Regions from separate parts of the Homo sapiens genome. Here region 2 is linked to region 1. The links are contacts of gene promoters, found by promoter capture Hi-C in blood cells and fetal thymus (Javierre and others, 2016). All regions are on one chromosome and are shown on one strand. The core of a region is centred on a gene start or on the middle of the fragment in contact, and the rest is flanking DNA. Distances in the headings are between cores, read along the strand shown.

Evidence for each region. Contacts are between HindIII fragments. The CHiCAGO score rates a contact against its expected background, and 5 or more counts as called.
Region 2: a contact is called between a fragment that was not itself captured here and the fragment with the promoter of TBX2 in region 1, in 5 of 17 cell types (M0 macrophages, M2 macrophages, M1 macrophages and 2 more). The highest score is 9.1, in M0 macrophages.

What each region holds. Positions count from the first base shown.
Region 1 is chr17:61,397,863-61,401,237 of GRCh38, reverse strand. TBX2 (T-box transcription factor 2) reads right to left here and starts at 1,395. Exons shown (of 7, transcript NM_005994.4): 1 at 667-1,395. The coding sequence starts at 1,061. It overlaps TBX2-AS1 (TBX2 antisense RNA 1), which reads left to right and starts at 1,632. Exons shown (of 2, transcript NR_125751.1): 1 at 1,632-1,999. RefSeq lists a cis regulatory region at 1,311-1,322 and promoters at 1,311-1,558, 1,178-2,438. The HindIII fragment of the contact is 11,976 bases long and covers 1-3,375 here.
Region 2 is chr17:61,548,603-61,551,799 of GRCh38, reverse strand. No RefSeq gene overlaps it. Among named protein-coding and RNA genes, the nearest start is that of NACA2, 41 kb to the left of the region's middle. The HindIII fragment of the contact is 2,245 bases long and covers 724-2,968 here.

The DNA of each region.
Region 1 (3,375 bases), core at 146-2,645:
CATCCTGGCCGTGCAGTTCGGGGGAAGAGGGTGAACCCGAGGCCTGGATTCTCGGTGGCTGAGTCGAAGGGTGGAGGGGCCGGGGCTGTGGCTTTCTTCAGGCTTTAAGGCCTGGGGCGGCGGATGCGTCCAGGGCTCGGATGCCCGCGGTGGAGAAAGGGCTCCCAGCCCGGTGAGGCGGAGGGCTCGGCTGACCCGGGGCTCGCTGCCAGGAACCGAGCAACCAGCGTGGGGTTAGCTGGGCCCAGGTCCCACTAGGGGCTTCGGGGTCGGAGCAGAGTCTGAGAGAGGCTGAATTTCCCCCGAGCTCGGAGACGGACCCGGACGCAGAAGAGCGAGAGCGCGGGGCGGAGGAGACCGCCAGGGCCAAGCCGCGGGGCCTCCTCTGCGCTGGGACTCAGAACGGTTGGGGCTATTCTTTAGCAGTATGTTTTCGTTTTATTTCATTCGGAGGATTTTAGCGTTTTTGTTTTAAAAAAAAATCGCTCCGGTGCCAAACGAGAAAAGTCAACTTGGTTGTCCGTGGGAGCGAAGCGTGGCGTCAGGGCCAGAACCTGGAGCCGGGAGCCGGGAGCCGGGAGTCCCCAGCTCTGCTCTGATCCGTGCAGTCCCGTGCCCCAGCCCGCCCGCCCGCCCGCGCGCCTTCCAGCCGGCCGGCAGCCCTACCTCCCGGACTTGGTGATGACCATCTCCGTGCCTAGCTTGTGGAACTGGTCCCACAGCTCCTTGGCCTCCAGCGTCACCTTGGGGTCGTCCTCCACCTCGTCCTCGGGCTCCAGGCTCTTGAGGGAGCGCAGATGCGCGGCGGGCGGGTGCGGGCCCAGTGCCGAGACGTGCAGCCCCGCCTCGGCCGCTGCTGCCGCCGCCGCCGCCGCGGCCGCCGCCCCCGCCAGGCCCGGGTCGGGCAGCGGCTTGGCCAGCGCGCCGGGCGGCAGCGCGAGTGCCGGGAAGAAGGAGGGCTGCGCCGCCGCCAGAAAGGCGGACATGGGGAAGTCGGCGGGCCGTGGCGCGTGGAACGGGTGGTAAGCCATGGCGCTGGCCGCCAGCGCCGGCTCTCTCATCGGGACATCCGGCCCAGGCGCCCGGGGGCCGGGGCCGGGGCCGGGGGCGCGCGGCTCGGACCCCCGGCCCGGGCGGCGGCGCGCGCGGTGGACGGACGACCCGGGTGGCGGGCGCAGCAGCTGCTCCTCGGGGCTTCCCGTCCGGCGCACCGCAAGGGGCACCCGGCTCTGTGCGCGGGGGCGGCGGGGGCTCTGCGCGGGGCCGGGCTGGGCCGGGCTGAGCTGGCCCGCTCCGGCGCCGGGGACCACGCGCGACTGGTTAGATCTTGTCGTGATCTCTGGAAAACTGTGACTATCTCACATGTCCTGCCCAGCTCGGATCCCCTGCGCTAACGAGCCAGGCCCCCCTTGATTGCTGATTTTACGCTTTTTGGACCAATTGTGGGTCTCCGGGGGCGGGGTTTTGACAGCTCAGGCCAAGCTCCGGCCGGGAGGGGGGGCCTGGGAGAAGGTGTCGGAAGCCTCAGCAGTAAGAAAACATGTCAACAGAATAAAATATTAACCAATGACGGGCCGCCGGGCCCCGAGACCCCTCCTCCTGCCCCGGCCCCCACCGCCCGCCCGCGCCTGCGGCTGCCTGCGCCGGACTGGAGAGCGCGGAGGGCCGACCTGACCCGCCGAAAGGGCCTGAGGCGAGGGGAGCCCGGGTCCCGGGGCCTTGGGGAAGGACCCGCAGCCGCACGCCGGCCCCAAGTGCAAAGCATTGACACGACCCCGAGCGGAGAGGGGGCGCCCTCCTTCTCCCGCGCCCAGAGGCCCGGCCGCTCTGGCCCGAGCCCCAGCCTGGCCTCCGACCCAGCTCCGGGTCGTGGCGCCGCCTGGGGGTCCCTGCGCCCCGGAAAGAGACAGCAGGCACTGGAAAGCGAGGCCGGTGGGCGGGCGAGTCGGGAGGCTCGGGCGGCCGAGGTCCGGGAGCGGATCCCAGGTGGCGGGAGCTGGTGAGTGGAGCCATGGCCGAGCCCTGCTGGGGCCGGCGCGGGCGGGAGCGGGACGCGGCCTTGCGCTGGGGAAACGCGGGGACCCCCTACCCGCGCCCGCCTTCACCGGAAGACTCGGAAGGAACCTGGAGTTCTCCGCAGGCCCGGGCCCCGCCCTGAGCTTTCCAGCGGCCGGGAGGAGCGGATCCTCGGGGCCAGGAAGGTGAGCGCACCTTTCGCTGAGCACAGGGCGGCACCGCGCGGGCGGACCCCGGATTCTCCACCCGCGACCCAACGAATTTTCGCCCTATCCGGTACCGGAGACGAAAGTCTCCTTCTTCCGAAATACCGGCTTCCTCTCTTCGCCCTGCCAACCACTTTTTTAGTTTCTTCTCATCTCTCGGAAGCGCACGTCTCCTAAGTTAAGGAGTGCTGAGTAACGCGTGAGGGAGTTGGGGTGTCTGCGAGCACCTGTGATTGAAGCCCCCTCTTCTGTGATCAGTCTTCGTTTTCTGTCTTCCGGCAGCCTCAGTTTCCCCCCCATGAAGTGATGGTGTGTGTGTGTGTGTGTGTGTGTGTGTGTGTGTGTGTGTGTGTGTCGGGCCCCGTGTGGTGCCCTCTGTGCGCAGCGAGAGCTATAACTCAAGGTGTGCACGGGGAGAGTGAAGCGACCACGCACCTGCTTCCAATCGGGCTCGGGCGCGAACACTCAGGCTGATTCCTGAAGGTCGTTTTCTGAAGGAAAAGACAGAGCATGCACTAGCCACGGGTGACATTCCCACCCGTACAACCGCGTGGTGGGCGCGTACATCCAACATTGACCCATGCAGGCGCCCGCCCACTGCGCACACCGGTCGCAGGGCACTTCGTTGTTGAACGTTGGGAGCAGCGTTTGAAGGCCGGATCTCTCCTGGCAGTGCGGATTCGGGACCGGCGGAAGCAGTATGGCCTCTGCGACCGTTATCCCTACTTTTCGGGGCCGACCCCAGGGCCCTCACAACTCCTCATCACCGCATATGTGAGCGCCGCCCCCACAGGGTTTTCTCCACGACCTCGTTCTTGGCTAGGTCGCACCTCTCTTAGTACCTCCTCTCTGGCCAGAACGAATCTTTGACTCCGAGCTGCGCAGTCTACGCAGACGGGGCAGGATCCACTGCAGTTTTCCACAGGCAAATACCTGCTGGCTCCACCTTAGGCGAGATGTGGCCTCTCGGGGAGGGACCCGTTGTGGACACGTTTGCGCAGCCGGTGAGGTGACCAGATAATAACCAGGGCAGCTTTCCTTAGCCGGGAACCCAGGTACCGGCCTAGGAATCCGTGAATACATTCGCAAAGTCGCGCGCGCGCGCGCGCGCGTGTGTGTGTGTGTGTGTGTGTGTGTGTGTGTAGACACATAC
Region 2 (3,197 bases), core at 597-3,096, 150 kb before region 1:
AAAAAAAGAAAAAAAAAGAAAGAAAGACAGGGAGAGAGGGAGGGAGGGAAAAAGAAAGAAAGAAGAATGAAGGGAGGAAGAGAGAAAGAAAAACGAGAGAGGGAAAGAAAGAGGAAGGAAGGAGAAGAAAAGAAAAGAAAAAAGAACAGAGTAAGAACAACAACAAAAAAAAAAACCTGTAGTAATCAGGCCCAACACAGACTCAAGCCAGAAGACAGCACTAGACCCTGGGCACACGGAGGTAGAGAAGTCCAGAAGGTGAGAGGAGACCTAAATTCTACCTCATACGCATTTCTGCGTAGGTTCCAGTGACACAACTATCCGTGTGCCTCTGAAAATAATTTCTGTACTTTGGGCAGACTGTAGATTGCCTATGCCTGGTTGATGTTTTTATTCCCTGAAAATTTAATCCTAGCAGTGAAGCCATTCATATTCTCAACAGTAGAGGTCCTCAGTACCATAGTTCTTCAGCAAAGATGCTGAAAAAAAAAATTCTCCAAACCTTGAATTATTTGGCGTTTATGGTTGCTTATGGAACTTAAGTCATTTTATGGATACAATTGTCTATTTTTTATGTCATTAATAAACAAAAAAATTTAGTCCTCATGGTCCGATCTTGGCTTAAAATTTCACAGTCTTTTGTAACAGCTGAAATAATGTGTCAAAAATCAGTTAACAGTGAAATAATTTGAAAAAATATATATAAAGCATTCTCTTAAAGCTTTGGGATAAAAAGACCATGAGAAAATGTTTAGAGAAGATGTTGAAATTTGTTGTGATGAAAGTAAACAGTGATTTTTTGGGAAAGATGGGGGGTGTTGGTTCTGTTTTTCTAAAAACTATCAATTTATGTCTTGTCTATTGTGTTTAGAACTATAGAGCTATAAGATACTTAGGGTTTTTTTGTTTTCTTTGTTTTTTGTTTTTGTCCCAGGGATATTTATTTGAATTTTCTACCTGTAAACACAATTTGCTAACAGCTCCATTTACCCTTTCTTTTCACCAAAATTTGACATTGTCCTTAATCCTCCCAATTCTTTATTCTCCATATAACAATCAGGAAATTTTATCATTTCTACCTCCTATATATTGCATGTCCCATTTTCCATCTCTCGGGCCCCCATTGCCCTAGTTTGGGTCCTTAACTTGGTTGTTATAATTTTCTTCTATCCAGTCTTCCTATTTCTAGTTTCATATCTTTTTAAACCATTCATTGCATATTTATAAAACTGTCTTCCTAAAATGCCATTTCCCTGCTTAACACTTCCAGTGGTTTTCCATCACTGCTGAACAAAGCACAAATTTCCTAGCATAGCCTGCCTGTTCCTTTATAACCTTGTCCCTAACTACCTCTCCAGCTCTATTGTTTTCTTCCCTTTTTACCATAGCCCTCAGATCTGTATTCCAACCACACACTGAACTGAACTACTAAGAGTTTCTCAGATGCATCAAATTGTTTCAACCTTTCTGTCTTCGCATGCTGTTTTTCTCCTGAATATTACTATTCTTTCTTCCCTTATTCCTTGTTTACCTGACCAGTACCTAATTCTTCCTTTAAGATCCAGGCCAAGTTATCTTTTGCATTGTAAAACATTTCCTGAACCTCAGGCATTACCTTCTTTGTGCCAACATTCTATATATTCTTCCACTGCCATAGACCCGGTAGTATACTAGCTATTTCTCCTGCTAAACCAATGATTCTCAGTGGTGACAGAGAGTGTGCTGGGGGCAGTGCAATTTTGCCCATCAGAGGACATTTGGCAATGACTGGATCCATTTTTTATTGTCACAGCAATGGGGTGGTGGTGGTGCTACTGGCATCTATTGGGTAGAGGCCAGAGATGCTGCTGAACATCTTCTCATGGCCAGGACAACCTCCCACAACAAAGAATTATCCAGTCAAACATGGGTAGTACCAAGGTTGGGAAACTCTGTGTCAGACCTTAAAATTGTATCTTTTTAAAAAACTTTGAATCCTTAGAACCTAGAACAATGCCAAGCAAAAATTAGGCACTAAATAAATATTGGTTGAAGGAGTGAAAAATTCCATAGAGTTATCTAAAGGGAATCCATTCAAGGATTTTAAAAATATATTATTTGGAAAAATAACCAGAGCCCAAATTCAATCACATTCAAAAGTATAATTTGACATTTATCTTAAAATTTCCTTAATAATGCATAGAAAGACTAGATTAAGATTTTGAACTGATTATATGCCTGTTTCTCCCAAAAAAGTCATAAAATGTCAAAAAACAAGAAAAAGTCTATCAGATTACATATTTTGAAGAACTCCTGAAAGAGACCATAGCCGATGGAAGGGAGGAAATAATCAAAGAAATAATAGAAGAAAATTTCCCAGGTCTGAAGGCAGATGGAAAGGGCCTGCATCGTGGGCTTACCTCAAAATACCAAGAATAAAGACAGGAAAAACCATCTACAAAAGCGTAGATTTTACATTGGCATTTCATGTCTAATTACTAGGACTAGATACCAAAATTATATTGAGATGAAATAATAGCTCAATATAATGAGGGAATATTATCTTAAAACTAAAATATTATTCCTAGTTAATTAATATTTACATAGTGAGACAAAAATTAAGACATTTGCAGACACAGTAAGACTTAGAAGTTTACCACCCACAAATTTTCTCTTTAGAGAATTACTAAAAGACATAAGCCATCCCAACCCCTGCCAAAAAAGGAATTCAGAGGACTATAAGAGATATCAGAAACAAACGGTAAGCAAAGAAGTAAAACCTAGAATAAGTCTGATGATATTCAAGCATAATGAAAAATAGTTAACAACAACCTGGAACTAAAGTACCAGATGACTTCAATGTGTGAAGTAGAAGAAGAAAGACAAAAGTACAAGAAAGAAGATGAATGTTTGCTAAGATTCGTGTTGGGGCCAAGAGGTGCCTAGATATATACACAAATGATTTTAAAAAGAGAAAAATTAGAAAGCTTAATGTAAAATGTAAAAGAATCCATTAGGAAAATGGAATATATAGTTTCCAAAACAATAAATAAAGGGAAAAAGAAGAAATAAATAAATCCAACAGAAGACAATAAAAAAAGAAACAATAGTAAATAGAAAACATAAAGTGAGGTAGCAAGATTAAGTCAAAATATACCGGTATTCTTAATAAATGTAAACCTGTTAAATTTTCCAATTAAAGGACAGAAAATCCAATT